5 separate regions of the Homo sapiens genome follow, and regions 1, 2, 3 and 4 are each linked to region 5. Evidence: promoter capture Hi-C in 16 types of primary human blood cells and fetal thymus (Javierre and others, 2016). All regions are on one chromosome and are shown on one strand. Each heading gives the region's core, a stretch centred on a gene start or on the middle of the fragment in contact. The rest is flanking DNA. Distances are from core to core; before and after follow the strand shown.

Region 1 (2,705 bases), core at 81-2,580, 410 kb after region 5:
AGAAATATGTCTCTTCAGACACAGGCAAACAAAACCAGTTACCAAGAGTTGGAGAAATATGAGGGAGAGGAAGAGCTTAGGTAGGGACTTGAACTAATAACACCAGAAACCTTGATTTTGTGCTTGATTTTCCCAGGGCAGCTTGGGAAGAAAGACTTATTAGTTAATAAACAAGAGAAACAAAGCTTAAGAATGAAGATCACAAAAATCAAAAAGGAAAATAGTGACAGAGGCTTAGAGTTGGAAGTAAACTTAGAAGTCACTTAAAATAAACTTTCACCCTGTTTAGGATTCCATTCTCCTGTGTTCTGTTCCTCTTCCTAGACAGCGAGAAGCCACCACTGATGGGTTGGGCTGGGTACAGGGCCAACTACCTGCAGTTGCTGTGCCAAAGGAGAAGGCAGAGAGCCTTAGACACTGGGAGAAGAAGTCCAAAACCACATTGCTAAACCAGAATGCTGGTCAGAGAACAGAACTCAGGCCCAAATCCAGAATGGAGGCATGACAGGAACCAGGGAATCTACAAGGAAAAATCATCAAGGCAGGCAACAGGGTGGTAGGCTATGAAATTCTGCAGATAAAATGCTGGTGACAAAAATGAGCTTTTCAGAGGATTACATATGTAACCAGAGTTTATTTTAAGGGTCAGGATAGATTTAGGTGACTTTTTTTCACCTCTGCCTAAGTATTTCTGGAGACTAGAATCTTATATTTGATAAGGGAAAGCTTTACTTGTTAGAAAATTCTTTCCTTTCCTGAGTTGAATATTGCTTTTCTCTAATTTTTCCTGAGTTCTGCCTTTTAGAAAAACACTGAACAAATTTAGTCCACTGTGCACGTGACTTCCCTTCAGCTACTTGAATACAGTGATTATGTCATTCTTTAGCAGTTTATGCTCCAAGACAAATCGCTTCTTTCCATTATTACCTTTGTTATTGTCTTCCTAACCCCCTAATCAGGCCATGATCATATCCCAATTTTTGAATATGCTTTAAGAACATATTGTATCCAGAACTGGACACAATACCACACATATACTTTGACTCTCTTTAATCATTATTCTCCTATTTCTGCCTAAATTTACGTTACTTTGTTTGCAGTCTTGCCACATTTTGAGCTCACACTTAGCTCAGAGCCAGCTATAACCCTGAAGCCATTTTTATATGAATTGCAATAATTGGATATGAATATGAACCTTTTCTTAAGTTGAATTTCTCCAGAAAGAGACCCTGAGAGGAGCACTTGCCCACAAGTTGTGTACTGGGGAAGCGATCCCTGGAAGCTCTGGTAGAAGAGCGGGCAAGAGGCAGCAAACAATATGCAGGCAATAAAGGGACATTATCATGCAGGGTTGCCGCTGTGGGAAACAGGAGTTCAGTCCTGCTGGGAACTCTGGGAGACAGTGGAGAACATGCCTCACAAGTGTCCTCACTCCCCGTGGGGCAAGAGAATTGAGGGTAGCAATTGGAGCAATTCCTGTCAATCATGGCTGAACGTTGCTGGGGAGGGAGGTACATGTCAATTTCTAGTTACTCCCTGTGTGTCCCAAGTACAGGCTCCTGTCTCCAGAGAAAGCCCTCAGGCAAAGAGTTGCAGATGCTGGAGGTTGGACATTTTAATGTTGGTTTGTGTGAGGAAGGTAGGCACCAAGGGGACGTGGTCAGAGCAATAGCATACTAGATACAGATGTGATTATGGAGAGAAAGAAAGGTGGAGGCGGGGGAGTGCAGAGAGACAGAGAGAAAGAGAGAAAGTGGGGGGATATTTCCACAGACATAGATAACACTATAGATAAAGACGTGAAAACAAAGACCTGAAGAAGTCAAAGCAAAGGTATATCTAATCATTTGTAGTGGGAACAGGCACTTCTAGAATCACCCATAGAGACTACTATTTCTTCATAGCAAGGAAAATCACAAAAGAAAATTAAAGTGAAAGCTTGCTTTAAATAAGTGTGTTGTTAGATTCTGGATTACTTCCATGCAATGATTCCTTAAATTTAGTCATTATTCTATTACAAAAGTAATAAAATGCATTGTAGACAACTGGGAATTAAAGAAAAAACCTATAGTCACATGATCCAAACATTGACATTGTAGATTTTATTTTTCCTTCCAGTGACTTTCATATAAGTCTCATTTTAACAGAGTTAGAATCAGCTTTCATTTATATTAGATTGATGCAAAGGTAATTGCAGTTTGCAGTTTTTGCTATTACTTTTAATGGTAAAACCCAATTACCTTGGCACCAACCCGATAATTGGGTTTTCTGCTCTTTTTTTTTCATTTAGCATTGTGACCTACAGCAGGAGTCTCCACTTGATCAGATCTGAGGAATCACCCACTTATGGAGTTAGACAAATCTCCCTCTCTCACAGAATCCAGGAAAGCTTTGGGAAATAATTCATACCTGGTTCCTAACTGAGGTTCAAATGTATAGCACCATAGCCAATAGGCAGTAGTGTCCTGGGGAAATCAGATTATGGAGAGGGGCAACAGATGGTGTGAAAGAAGGAGAAAAAAAGAATCATGAGAAATAAGTGAGAGATCCCATTTCTAAAAAAAAAAAAAAAAATTAGCTAGGCACGGTAGCACACCTGTAGTCCCAGCTACTCTGGAGGCTGACATGGGAGGATCCATTGAGTCCCAGGAGTATGAGGCTGCAGTGAGCCATGATCACACCACTACACTGCAGCCTAAGTGAAG
Region 2 (2,700 bases), core at 65-2,564, 490 kb after region 5:
TAGGTTGCCTGTTCACTCTGATGGTAGTTTCTTTTGCTGTGCAGAAGCTCTTTAGTTTAATTAGATCCCATTTGTCAAGTTTGGCTTTTGTTGCCATTGCTTTTGGTGTTTTAGATATGAAGTCCTTGCTCATGCCTATGTCCTGAATGGTATTGCCTAGGTTTTCTCCTAGGGTTTTTATGGTTTTAGGTCTAACATTTAAATCTTTAATCCATCTTGAATTAATTTTTGTATAAGGTGTAAGGAAGGGATCCAGTTTCAGCTTTCTACATATGGCTAGCCAGTTTTCCCAGCACCATTTGTTAAATAGGGAATCCTTTCCCCATTTCTTGTTTTTGCCAGGTTTGTCAAAGATCAGATAGTTGTAGAAGTGTGGTGTTATTTCTGAGGGCTCTGTTCTGTTCCATTTGTCTATATCTCTGTTTTGGTACCAGTACCATGCTGTTTTGGTTACTGTAGCCTTTTAGTATAGTTTGAAGTCAGGTAGTGTGATACCTCCAGCCTTGTTCTTTTGGCTTAGGATTGACTTGGCAATGTGGGCTCTTTTTTGGTTCCATATGAACTTTAAAGTAGTTTTTTCCAATTCTGTGAAGAAAGTCATTGGTAGTTTGATGGGGAAGGCATTGAATCTATCAATTACCTTGGGCAGTATGTCCATTTTCATGATATTGATTCTTCTTATCCATGAGCATGGAATGTTCTTCCATTTGTTTGTATCCTCTTTTATTTCATTGAGCAGTGGTTTGTGGTTCTCCTTGAAGAGGTTCTTCACATCCCTTGTAAGTTGGATTCCTAGGTATTTTATTCTCTTTGAAGCAATTGGGAATGGGAGTTCACTCATGATTTGGCTCCCTGTTTGTCTGTTATTGGTGTATAAGAATGCTTGTGATTTTTGCACATTGATTTTGTATCCTGAGACTTTGCTGAAGTTGCTTATCAGCTTAAGGAGATTTTGGGCTGAGACGATGGGGTTTTCCAAATACACAATCATGTCATCTGCAAACAGGGACAATTTGACTTCCTCTTTTCCTAATTGAATACCCTTTATTTCTTTCTTCTGCCTGATTGCCCTGGCGAGAACTTCCAACACTATGTTGAATAGGAATGGTGAGAGAGGGCATCCCTGTCTTGTGCCAGTTTTCAAAGGGAATGCTTCCAGTTTTTGCCCATTCAGTATGATATTGGCTGTGGGTTTGTCATAGATAGCTCTTATTATTTTGAGATACGTCCCATCAATACCTAATTTATTGAGAGTTTTTAGCATGAAGGGTTGTTGAATTTTGTCAAAGGCTTTGACAAACCTGAGAAAAACAAGCAATGGGGAAAGGATTCCCTATTTAATAAATGGTGCTGGGAAAACTGGCTAGCCATATGTAGAAAGCTGAAACTGGATCCCTTCCTTACACCTTATACAAAAATCAATTCAAGATGGATTAAAGATTTAAACGTTAGACCTAAAACCATAAAAACCCTAGAAGAAAACCTAGGCATTACCATTCAGGACATAGGCGTGGGCAAGGACTTCATGTCCAAAACACCAAAAGCAATGGCAACAAAAGCCAAACTTGACAAATGGGATCTAATTAAACTAAAGAGCTTCTGCACAGCAAAAGAAACTACCCTCAGAGTGAACAGGCAACCTACAACATGGGAGAAAATTTTCACAACCTACTCATCTGACAAAGGGCTAATATCCAGAATCTACAATGAACTCAAACAAATTTACAAGAAAAAAACAAACAACCCCATCAAAAAGTGGGCCAAGGACATGAACAGACACTTCTCAAAAGAAGACATTCATGCAGCCAAAAAACACATGAAAAAATGCTCATCATCACTGGCCATCAGAGAAATGCAAATCAAAACCACTATGAGATATCATCTCACACCAGTTAGAATGGCAATCATTAAAAAGTCAGGAAACAACAGGTGCTGGAGAGGATGTGGAGAAATAGGAACACTTTTACACTGTTGGTGGGACTGTAAACTAGTTCAACCATTGTGGAAGTCAGTGTGGCGATTCCTCAGGGATCTAGAACTAGAAATACCATTTGACCCAGCCATTCCATTACTGGATATATACCCAAAGGATTATAAATCATGCTGTTATAAAGACACATGCACACGTATGTTTATTGCGGCATTATTCACAATAGCAAAGACTTGGAACCAACCCAAATGTCCAACAATGATAGACTGGATTAAGAAAATGTGGCACATATACACCATGGAATACTATGCAGCCATAAAAAATGATAAGTTCATGTCCTTTGTAGGGACATGGATGAAATTGGAAACCATCATTCTCAGTAAACTATCGCAAGAACAAAAAACCAAACACCGCATATTCTCACTCATAGGTGGGAATTGAACAATGAGATCACATGGACACAGGAAGGGGAATATCACAGTCTGGGGACTGTGGTGGGGTCGGGGGAGGGGGGAGGGATAGCAAAAAAAAAAAAGTGTATTTTTATGGAATACATAAAAGGTAACTCTTGTGAGTTATGACTTTGAGAAAAAAATAAATAAATAAATAAATAAATAAATAAATATTAAGACAGAGTCCAATCAAAAGCAAAAGGCAAAACAAGTTAGTTCCAAGTGACCTCATTTCAAAACTTGAACAAATGAGCAGCACATTGAGTTTCCAGGCAGACTACATGTTAAGAAATTGTATTGCATGGCTGGGTGCGGTGG
Region 3 (2,700 bases), core at 177-2,676, 440 kb after region 5:
AGTCACGCTGAAAGTCAGAGCTACTCCTGGATTTGAGGTTAGATAAATGAACAAACTCCTTTGTATTTTTTTTAAGTCTGACTGATTTGATTTTCAGTGTTTTGCACTGGAATGAGTGATGAAGGATCCAATCACTAAGCTGATACATGGCAGAGCCAGTAATTAAACCCAGGTTTTCTGTTCTTTTCCATCACAGTATTTAGATTTGATTTAATCCTTGGTTTTCTCGAAAGAATTCAAGCAAATTAGAATAAGATTTAGCCACAGAAAGTGCCTTAGTTTCGGTTACCCAGAATTAGTCCCTGAGTCAAAGATTTCTGTGCAAGTAATTTACTAAGAATATGCCACAAAGGGAAACTGACATGGACCAGGGAAGCAGAGCAGGAAAGGAGAAGAAACCAAGCAAGGGTGAAATTTCCAGCTAAGTCCCAGCCTCAATCTGATTCCCAGGGGAATTTCCAAGGGAAGTTACACTGAGGAGCTTGTCCTCCTGATTACGCTCTAGTCAGCCATTGCCAGGTGAGCAACCCTGGGTGGAGGGAACATATACTCCCAGGTACTCTTACTATCTGTGAGACCTAGAAATGAGTCCAGTAGCCCAAGGCCAGTCCTCTGAAGAAGACCCATTAAATGCAAAGCACTGACAAAGTTAAGTCTGAATTAGAGGAGCCTTTTCTGGATACATTCTGGCATACTCAGCTTTTCTGGAGTGAGATCCTGGAAAACTCAAAAGTATAGGAAAGGTCTCACTACACTGATGTGAAATTGAAGTCCAACCTGTTTCCTTACCTTCTTGAAATGTTACGCAATTCATGGACAGAAGCTTCCTCGGGTTTATGATTTTCTCACATTTCTTTTGATGCCAGGGGCCATTTTCCCATTCATAAGACCTCAACTCCACCAACTTACCAACATCAACCATCTTAACTTCACTTAGTATGAATTTTCTGACATGCACAGTGGGGAAAATAATAGAGCCTATTTTGATAGCTTGCTTTAAAAATTAAATGACAAAATGCCTTATCACAATACCTAGTACTGAGCTATTTGCATGCTGTTTATGGGCTGAATTGCGTCACCCTCAATACTCATAGATTTAAGTCCTTCTACCTCAGAATGTGACTGCATATAGGTGTGACTCAGTTACAATGAGGTCATTAGGGCAGGCCCTAATCCATTCTAGCTGATGTTTTTATGAGGAGATTTGAACACACAGAGATATCAGAGATGAGTGTTCACAGAGGTGAAACCATGTGAGGACATGGCCAGAAGGCAGCCACCTGCAAGCTGCAAAAAGAACCAAATCTGCTGACATTTTGATCTTGGAATTCTAGTCTCTAGAACCGTGAGAAAATAAATTTATTTGTTTAAGCCACCAAGTTTGTGTTATTTTGTTACAGCATCCCTAGCAAGCTAATACACGTGCATATCAAAACTGTCCCTTCCTTAATTTCTCATTCTAATATCCTATCATTCCTGGGTACATATAAATGGATGGCTATTGTCAGGAAAGAATATTCATCCTCTACACGGTGTTTCCAGCCAACTGAGTTGGACATTTCAGAAACAAATCTTAGAAGAGCATAGAATAGTTTTTCCAGAAGGAAATATTCAACAGATCCATATTCCACCTTCTCTGACACTGTGTTCTCAGCAGGTGGGAAATTATTCTCAAGCCTATATCCCAGAGACTGCAATCATGTTAGCATGAGGACCAGATGGAATAAAACCAGGATCCAACTACATTTATTTTCAGAGCTTTAGAAAAGAACGGAATGGAGTGAAGGTTAGATCTCCCTTTGGTCTCTTGGGTCTAAGTTTGGCTAATCAGCTCCATAAAAGCTACCTTAGGAACACTAGGTACTTAGTGGAAGCTAAACAATCTCTCCATGTAGTGTCTATGATTCTGAAAAATGAATCTAGAAAATCAAAGTCATAAATCTCTTTTTAAGTGCCATCCAAAGAAAACTATTTCCTAAATGAATTTTATTGAAATAATAAGTGCAACAAATAAATCCAGGGTGGCACTAAAGCTTTTCAAAATGGAAAAAGAAAAATGAGTTAAAATATTAGAGCTGAGAAAACAGAACTGCTAGGTGCTCATATCTTTGAAATCACAGTTGATGTTCCTAAAGCAAAAAGAATGCCTCACAGTGTGGACAAAACATCTTCCTATACATTATCCCACTTGAACCTCACAAGAACTCAGAAAATAAACAGGAAAGTGGCTCAAGGTCAGAGAACTCACCAAGTGTTTTGCCTGAGATAAAAACAATTTAAGTGAATAGAATAGGAAAAAAATAAATTTTACAGCAGTTCTAACATGTAGGCATCTGAAGGAAATATTCAAATAGACAAAGGTATGTTAGATTCAGGTTTATTAATGTCGTATCAATCAAGAAGACTTTATTTAATGCACTGTTCTAGTAAAAATATATTCTTTTTGTTCAATAAAATTTTAAGATGCATTCTTCATAATTTATGGGTAAAATCAAATATAAGAATCCAAGGGCAGGAATAGAAGCAAGTTTCCTAAATATACATCACTCTTAAAAATGTTTAAAGACAAAGAGCTGGAGCCTGCACTTTAGATTTACAAGTGATCTCGTTTTGTAATGTCTTAGAGAAATTAGAAAGAGAGCTCCTCCCACTGATTCTTCTTTCCTGTCATTTGTTCAGCTAGAAAATCCAACACTCTAA
Region 4 (2,821 bases), core at 307-2,806, 460 kb after region 5:
GATAAGATATCTTTGAAATATTTCCTTCATTCTTCCAGCACTGTCTTCCTTTGTGGCACAACCAGATGTTTCAAGAATATTTTCTACTTTACTTATCAGCCCTGCATAAAGCATCTCTCTATGAAGGTTTGGTTTTTTAAATGAAGAGTACTATCTAAAAATCAAAGTCTGGGTGCTAGGTATGTTAATTGATACGCGAGTCTCGCTGCTTGACTTGTACCTTTTATTTAGATTTTCTATTAAATCTTTTCTAGCAGTCTACACTACAGAGTTTAAGTTCACTCAGATCTTCCTTTATTCCATACTTATATTCGCTCCTTCATTGGTGATAAGCCTAGCCCCAACATCTTCAACCTCTTTGCTTATTTGCCCAATCTCCTATGTTGCCCATGTCTCAGCTTATCAGACTTCCCTCATCTCCCATCTCTGACCCCCATCCTGGCACCACCCACCATTACTTGTTCTGCTTGTGTCAAGAAAGGAAGCAAGGGCGTGAGAGAGAGGAGAAAGAAGGGGAAAGAAGGAAGAAAGGAACAATGAATATTAACGGAATGGTCTTGATTTGGCCATGGTTTCCATTGCTGCTTATCTTGCATTGTTACTATATTCCAAAAATTACTGTTAGGTCTTGCTTTTGTTGAAAATTCTGCTTCTATGAAACTGTCGTGGTTTCATCTTTGACTATTATGTGGTTTCTCTCACATTTTTTGTTATAACTGAGTTCTGGTCCACTGAAACTCGGAGGGATAGGTAACAAAAATGGTCATGGGCTCAGAACTTGGACCCTTGGCTGGGTCAGGATGATAGTGTACTGTGAGTGATGGTGGCCTGTGTGTATGTATCTGTGTTTGGGGGAGGGAAGCAGGGAGCAATTTCAGTAAGGAATGATGACATCTATTTTGAAATGAAAAAGAAAAGAAATGTGTCTCCTCTTCTCAATGCCCACATCTCTCCTGATTAATTCTGATGATCTCCTGACTGGCCTTTCTGCCTTTGATTTTCTCTCAATTTAACTTTTTCTTTTACTGGAGATTATGCATCTTCCTCCATCAAGCTGACATCTCTTCTTTATCCACCACTACTCTGGGTCCAGCTTAGCCTGGGGGATATTTCTGTTTTACTACTTATGGCACTAATTTGACCTGTCTCCTTATCAAGAAACTCTGAGGTTCTATAGAGCAGGAACCATTTAAATCCCAGGATTAAAAATACCTGGAATTTACTATATACTCAATAAACATTCGCTGAATGAATAAGTTAATGAGACCAGTCTCATTAAGGAATATTCAAGGAATATTGTGTCTAAGGAAGCTTGTGTTAGATATTGTCATCTCTTCCTTTATAAGTTAGTTTCTGCCATTGAATTATTTTGGGGTGGGGAGGGACGGAGGGCAAGACTCAGGAGTCTGCATTTTTAACACGACCCCTAAGGAATTCTATCCAGGTCATACTTTAATAAAAACTATGATTTGTTTCTAGTTTCTTAATTTTAAGTCCAAAGAGAGAATTTCATTCTCCAGAGCAACCAGTAGAGCATTGAGAATTAGAGGCACTAAATGAATTATGTGTTTTTATAAGGAGCTGAGATGCAGCCTTAATTACCTATTGATCTTTCTGGGATGAAAATTGACACAGCAATATTTTTCTTCTACCCTACCATTCATGCCACTTAAATACTTATTTATATTCTTCCAAAGTACTGTTTATTGTCTATGTACTTTATGGCTGAGTCTAAAAACAAAACTTCCTGTCTCTAAGAAATATGGATATTCTATTTATCTTGATTTACAAGAAACAATAGACAAGCTTCTAGGATTGCAAGATTGTTCAAGCATGACCCAATGGGCTCTAACAAATTCAGACTCAGAGATTATTGACAGATAATCCAGTCTCCTATACTATGTTCAAGACTAGGTAAATGGCAAACACGTTTTTGGTATCATGGCATGTATTTTTCTCACTCAGGGTGATATTAACAGATTATGCCCTTTTCTGCACAGCTGGATTGCTTTATATCTTTTCTACTGATAAACTCATAAGGGAAATAATAGATTCTTCCTGTTTCAGACCATTTATTGGATAAAAAGCTGACAGAGTTGTAGTTGTCTTTGGAAAAAATAATTTAAAAAAATAGTTTGTGTTTGGCAGTGAAACAGAGCACTAAGGTGTGGGTACTTCCACTGTCAGAGAAAAATCTGCACTCGGTAGGACCACTCACTCTAGGAAGGGAGTGACGGGGGTCTCACCAGAGGCCAGATCAGCCAAGCATGTGGCTGGATGGAGTAGGTGAGGTCAACGGCTGTGTCCACTATTTTAAAATCCCGTTTCTCTCCTTGAGATATAACTGGAATCTTGGCCTCCTGTTGAGTCATTCACAGCTTATTTCCCCATGGATGCCAGCAGTTGTCTGCTCCACTTCACCTGTTGGCTTTTATATTTTGTCAGTGTATTTTATATCCTCTAGTCTGTTCTTGAACCTCTTCTTTCCCTATGTCATGGCCTTTGCATATTCAAGTTTATATCAGAGCACGAGGGTCCTGAAAATTCCAAAATGCTCTCAAACTACGATACCCATTTAGCAAGAGGGACTTGAACGACACTTATTCTCCTATACTCAGTTACAGAAATTAAAGAAAGGAATAATAGATGGAATCTGTGAATCCATCTCTCTCTCTAGCTCTCTCTGTCTTTTCAGCTTTCTCTCTTTCCTTCCTTCTTTGACAGGAAAAAGCGGGGGGAAGTTTAGACCTATATAATGAAGGACTTTTTTCTAAAGTGTATCACAATAGAAAAGTAGAAATGAGCCATATATAAACCAGTA
Region 5 (2,735 bases), core at 13-2,512:
TCAAGTCCATGTCCTCCAAACAGACTCAGGTGAGCGGACACTTCCTCCGGTGAAACCCACCCACAACGGCAGACAAAGTCCCAGTCTATCAGATTTTCCTCCGGGTCCCAGGCGCATTCTCGCTTATGTATTTCTTTTCGTCCTGTATCCTCAGGAAGAGTCGGGACCAATGGGTGCCTGGGTTTTCTTTCTCCTTTTTCTGCCTCACCTCCTGTGCTCTCCTCGCCCGCTCCCATAGCCCCCTTTTCGTCGACTCTCACCTTGAGAAAAGGAGCAGGGGAGGAACGGGAGAGGGAGCCAACTTCAGCCCCGCAGGCGGCTGAGATTTGGCGCCTCTGTCCCCAAGCGGGTGGGTTTGGATATATACCTGCACAAGCGGTGCAAGGTGATGAGAATGAGGGCGGAGGGGCGGTGGGGACTCGAGTGGAAGGGAGTGTGTGTGTGTGTGTGTGTGTGTGTGTGTGTGTGTGTGTGTGTGTATGGGTAAAGAACTCAGAGGAGGGAGGTTGAAAGAGCAAAGCGGGTCAGGGAATTGCAACTCACTGGTCAAAGCGTCCCTTGCAGGCCCTGCCAGGGAATGTCTGGCTGGACCGAGCACTGTCCAGGGTCCTGAAGGCGGCAGGGCTCAGGCTGCCGCGGCGAGAGCAACCCGGAAGCTCCCCTCCGTTCCCTTTCTAGCAACTATGCAAACCCCAAAGCAAGCGCAGGACCCCCCCTAACCCGTCCACCCACCGCGGGAAACAAGTTACCTTATCTGCACCCCTTCTTCTTGAACATACACAGCAAGCCTGACTTCTTACGGGGGAAACATACCAAACTCCTCCATACGGAGACTTTACCAGGCGTTGCCTTAGTAACTAATGTGGATTTTCTTCAAGCTGGCAAATTTATATTTACAGCTGATTTTATGTCAGGGCTTCTTCAACCCCTCAAAATTAAAGTAAAAGGTGCATCCTTTGTTTACGTTTATTTTAAAGTCGCGCTTCCACCTTTACAATGAGTTTCCAAATTTTCTTCTGAAAAAAAGTTGATCTTTTCCAATCCGGAAAGTTCTCTTGGGTTGAAGGACCTAGCTCCTCCCCTCCTCTCTGCTCACCTTCCCCACCGCCCTCCAAGTTAGAAAGCATGATAGGTTTTAGGGGACCAGGAAACGACTTAAGGTTGGAGGAGCGGGCGAGTTGGCGGGGCTCTGCGCCGCCTGGACCCGTGAGGACAGAGGGGGCAGGACACCCCGCCTTCCTCAGTGACCACAGCTGCGCTCCAAGCTGTTCCTGCAGCCGATATCAGGATGTGCCGAAATGAAACGGACAAGGCAACTGTTAACATTATAGACCCCAGAGTTTTAACACAGGTCCTCTGATGACAAGGTTGTGATTTTTCTCTGTCTTTTGTCAGCAGCATCTAGCTCACCGCTGCCAACACGACTTCCACTGTACTCTTGATCAATTTACCTTGATGCACTACCGGTGAAGAACGGGGACTCGAATTCCCTTACAAACGCCTCCAGCTTGTAGAGGCGGTCGTGGAGGACCCAGAGGAGGAGACGAAGGGGAAGGAGGCGGTGGTGGAGGAGGCAAAGGCCTTGGACGACCATTGTTGGCGAGGGGCACCACTCCGGGAGAGGCGGCGCTGGGCGTCTTGGGGGTGCGCGCCGGGAGCCTGCAGCGGGACCAGCGTGGGAACGCGGCTGGCAGGCTGTGGACCTCGTCCTCACCACCATGGTCGGGCTCCTTTTGTTTTTTTTCCCAGCGATCTTTTTGGAGGTGTCCCTTCTCCCCAGAAGCCCCGGCAGGAAAGTGTTGCTGGCAGGAGCGTCGTCTCAGCGCTCGGTGGCCAGAATGGACGGAGATGTCATCATTGGAGCCCTCTTCTCAGTCCATCACCAGCCTCCGGCCGAGAAAGTGCCCGAGAGGAAGTGTGGGGAGATCAGGGAGCAGTATGGCATCCAGAGGGTGGAGGCCATGTTCCACACGTTGGATAAGATCAACGCGGACCCGGTCCTCCTGCCCAACATCACCCTGGGCAGTGAGATCCGGGACTCCTGCTGGCACTCTTCCGTGGCTCTGGAACAGAGCATTGAGTTCATTAGGGACTCTCTGATTTCCATTCGAGATGAGAAGGATGGGATCAACCGGTGTCTGCCTGACGGCCAGTCCCTCCCCCCAGGCAGGACTAAGAAGCCCATTGCGGGAGTGATCGGTCCCGGCTCCAGCTCTGTAGCCATTCAAGTGCAGAACCTGCTCCAGCTCTTCGACATCCCCCAGATCGCTTATTCAGCCACAAGCATCGACCTGAGTGACAAAACTTTGTACAAATACTTCCTGAGGGTTGTCCCTTCTGACACTTTGCAGGCAAGGGCCATGCTTGACATAGTCAAACGTTACAATTGGACCTATGTCTCTGCAGTCCACACGGAAGGTAGGCATTATATTTGGGAAAGAAGGGTACTGAGAAAGTCAGGGCAATGCATGATGTGCTCCTGGGATCATAGTATTGTTCCTGTTTATTTCTAGCACTGTGGGGAACGGAGTTTACCCTTCTCAGTACTGCCCACCCAGGCATTGCCTTTTATCCTCATTTCCTTACAATTATAGTGTAGGAAAATTGTACCCCATAGAATATCTGAGGATAATAGGAGCTGAAAGGGTATCAAACTTTCCATGCAAAGTGTCCAGCAGTAGATTTGACTTGAATACTTGTTTGCCCTCATATTTTGAGTTTGCGTTTGGAAGGCT

What was found. Contacts are between HindIII fragments. The CHiCAGO score rates a contact against its expected background, and 5 or more counts as called.
Region 1: a fragment that was not itself captured here is called in contact with the fragment with the promoter of GRM1 in region 5 in 2 of 17 cell types (M0 macrophages and M1 macrophages); the score reaches 6.5 in M0 macrophages.
Region 2: a contact is called between a fragment that was not itself captured here and the fragment with the promoter of GRM1 in region 5, in 4 of 17 cell types (endothelial precursors, M1 macrophages, M2 macrophages and 1 more). The highest score is 7.4, in endothelial precursors.
Region 3: a contact is called between a fragment that was not itself captured here and the fragment with the promoter of GRM1 in region 5, in 2 of 17 cell types (endothelial precursors and monocytes). The highest score is 5.9, in endothelial precursors.
Region 4: a contact is called between a fragment that was not itself captured here and the fragment with the promoter of GRM1 in region 5, in 3 of 17 cell types (M0 macrophages, endothelial precursors and M2 macrophages). The highest score is 7.8, in M0 macrophages.

The regions. Positions count from the first base shown.
Region 1 is chr6:146,439,335-146,442,039 of GRCh38, forward strand. No RefSeq gene overlaps it. Among named protein-coding and RNA genes, the nearest start is that of RAB32, 100 kb to the right of the region's middle. The HindIII fragment of the contact is 1,212 bases long and covers 725-1,936 here.
Region 2 is chr6:146,520,730-146,523,429 of GRCh38, forward strand. No RefSeq gene overlaps it. Among named protein-coding and RNA genes, the nearest start is that of RAB32, 22 kb to the right of the region's middle. The HindIII fragment of the contact is 6,008 bases long and covers 1-2,700 here.
Region 3 is chr6:146,469,480-146,472,179 of GRCh38, forward strand. No RefSeq gene overlaps it. Among named protein-coding and RNA genes, the nearest start is that of RAB32, 73 kb to the right of the region's middle. The HindIII fragment of the contact is 1,210 bases long and covers 822-2,031 here.
Region 4 is chr6:146,486,590-146,489,410 of GRCh38, forward strand. No RefSeq gene overlaps it. Among named protein-coding and RNA genes, the nearest start is that of RAB32, 56 kb to the right of the region's middle. The HindIII fragment of the contact is 495 bases long and covers 1,310-1,804 here.
Region 5 is chr6:146,027,800-146,030,534 of GRCh38, forward strand. It overlaps GRM1 (glutamate metabotropic receptor 1), which reads left to right and starts at 1,263. Exons shown (of 8, transcript NM_001278064.2): 1 at 1,263-2,418. The coding sequence starts at 1,719. RefSeq lists enhancers at 1,081-1,581, 1,582-2,082. The HindIII fragment of the contact is 3,742 bases long and covers 1-2,735 here.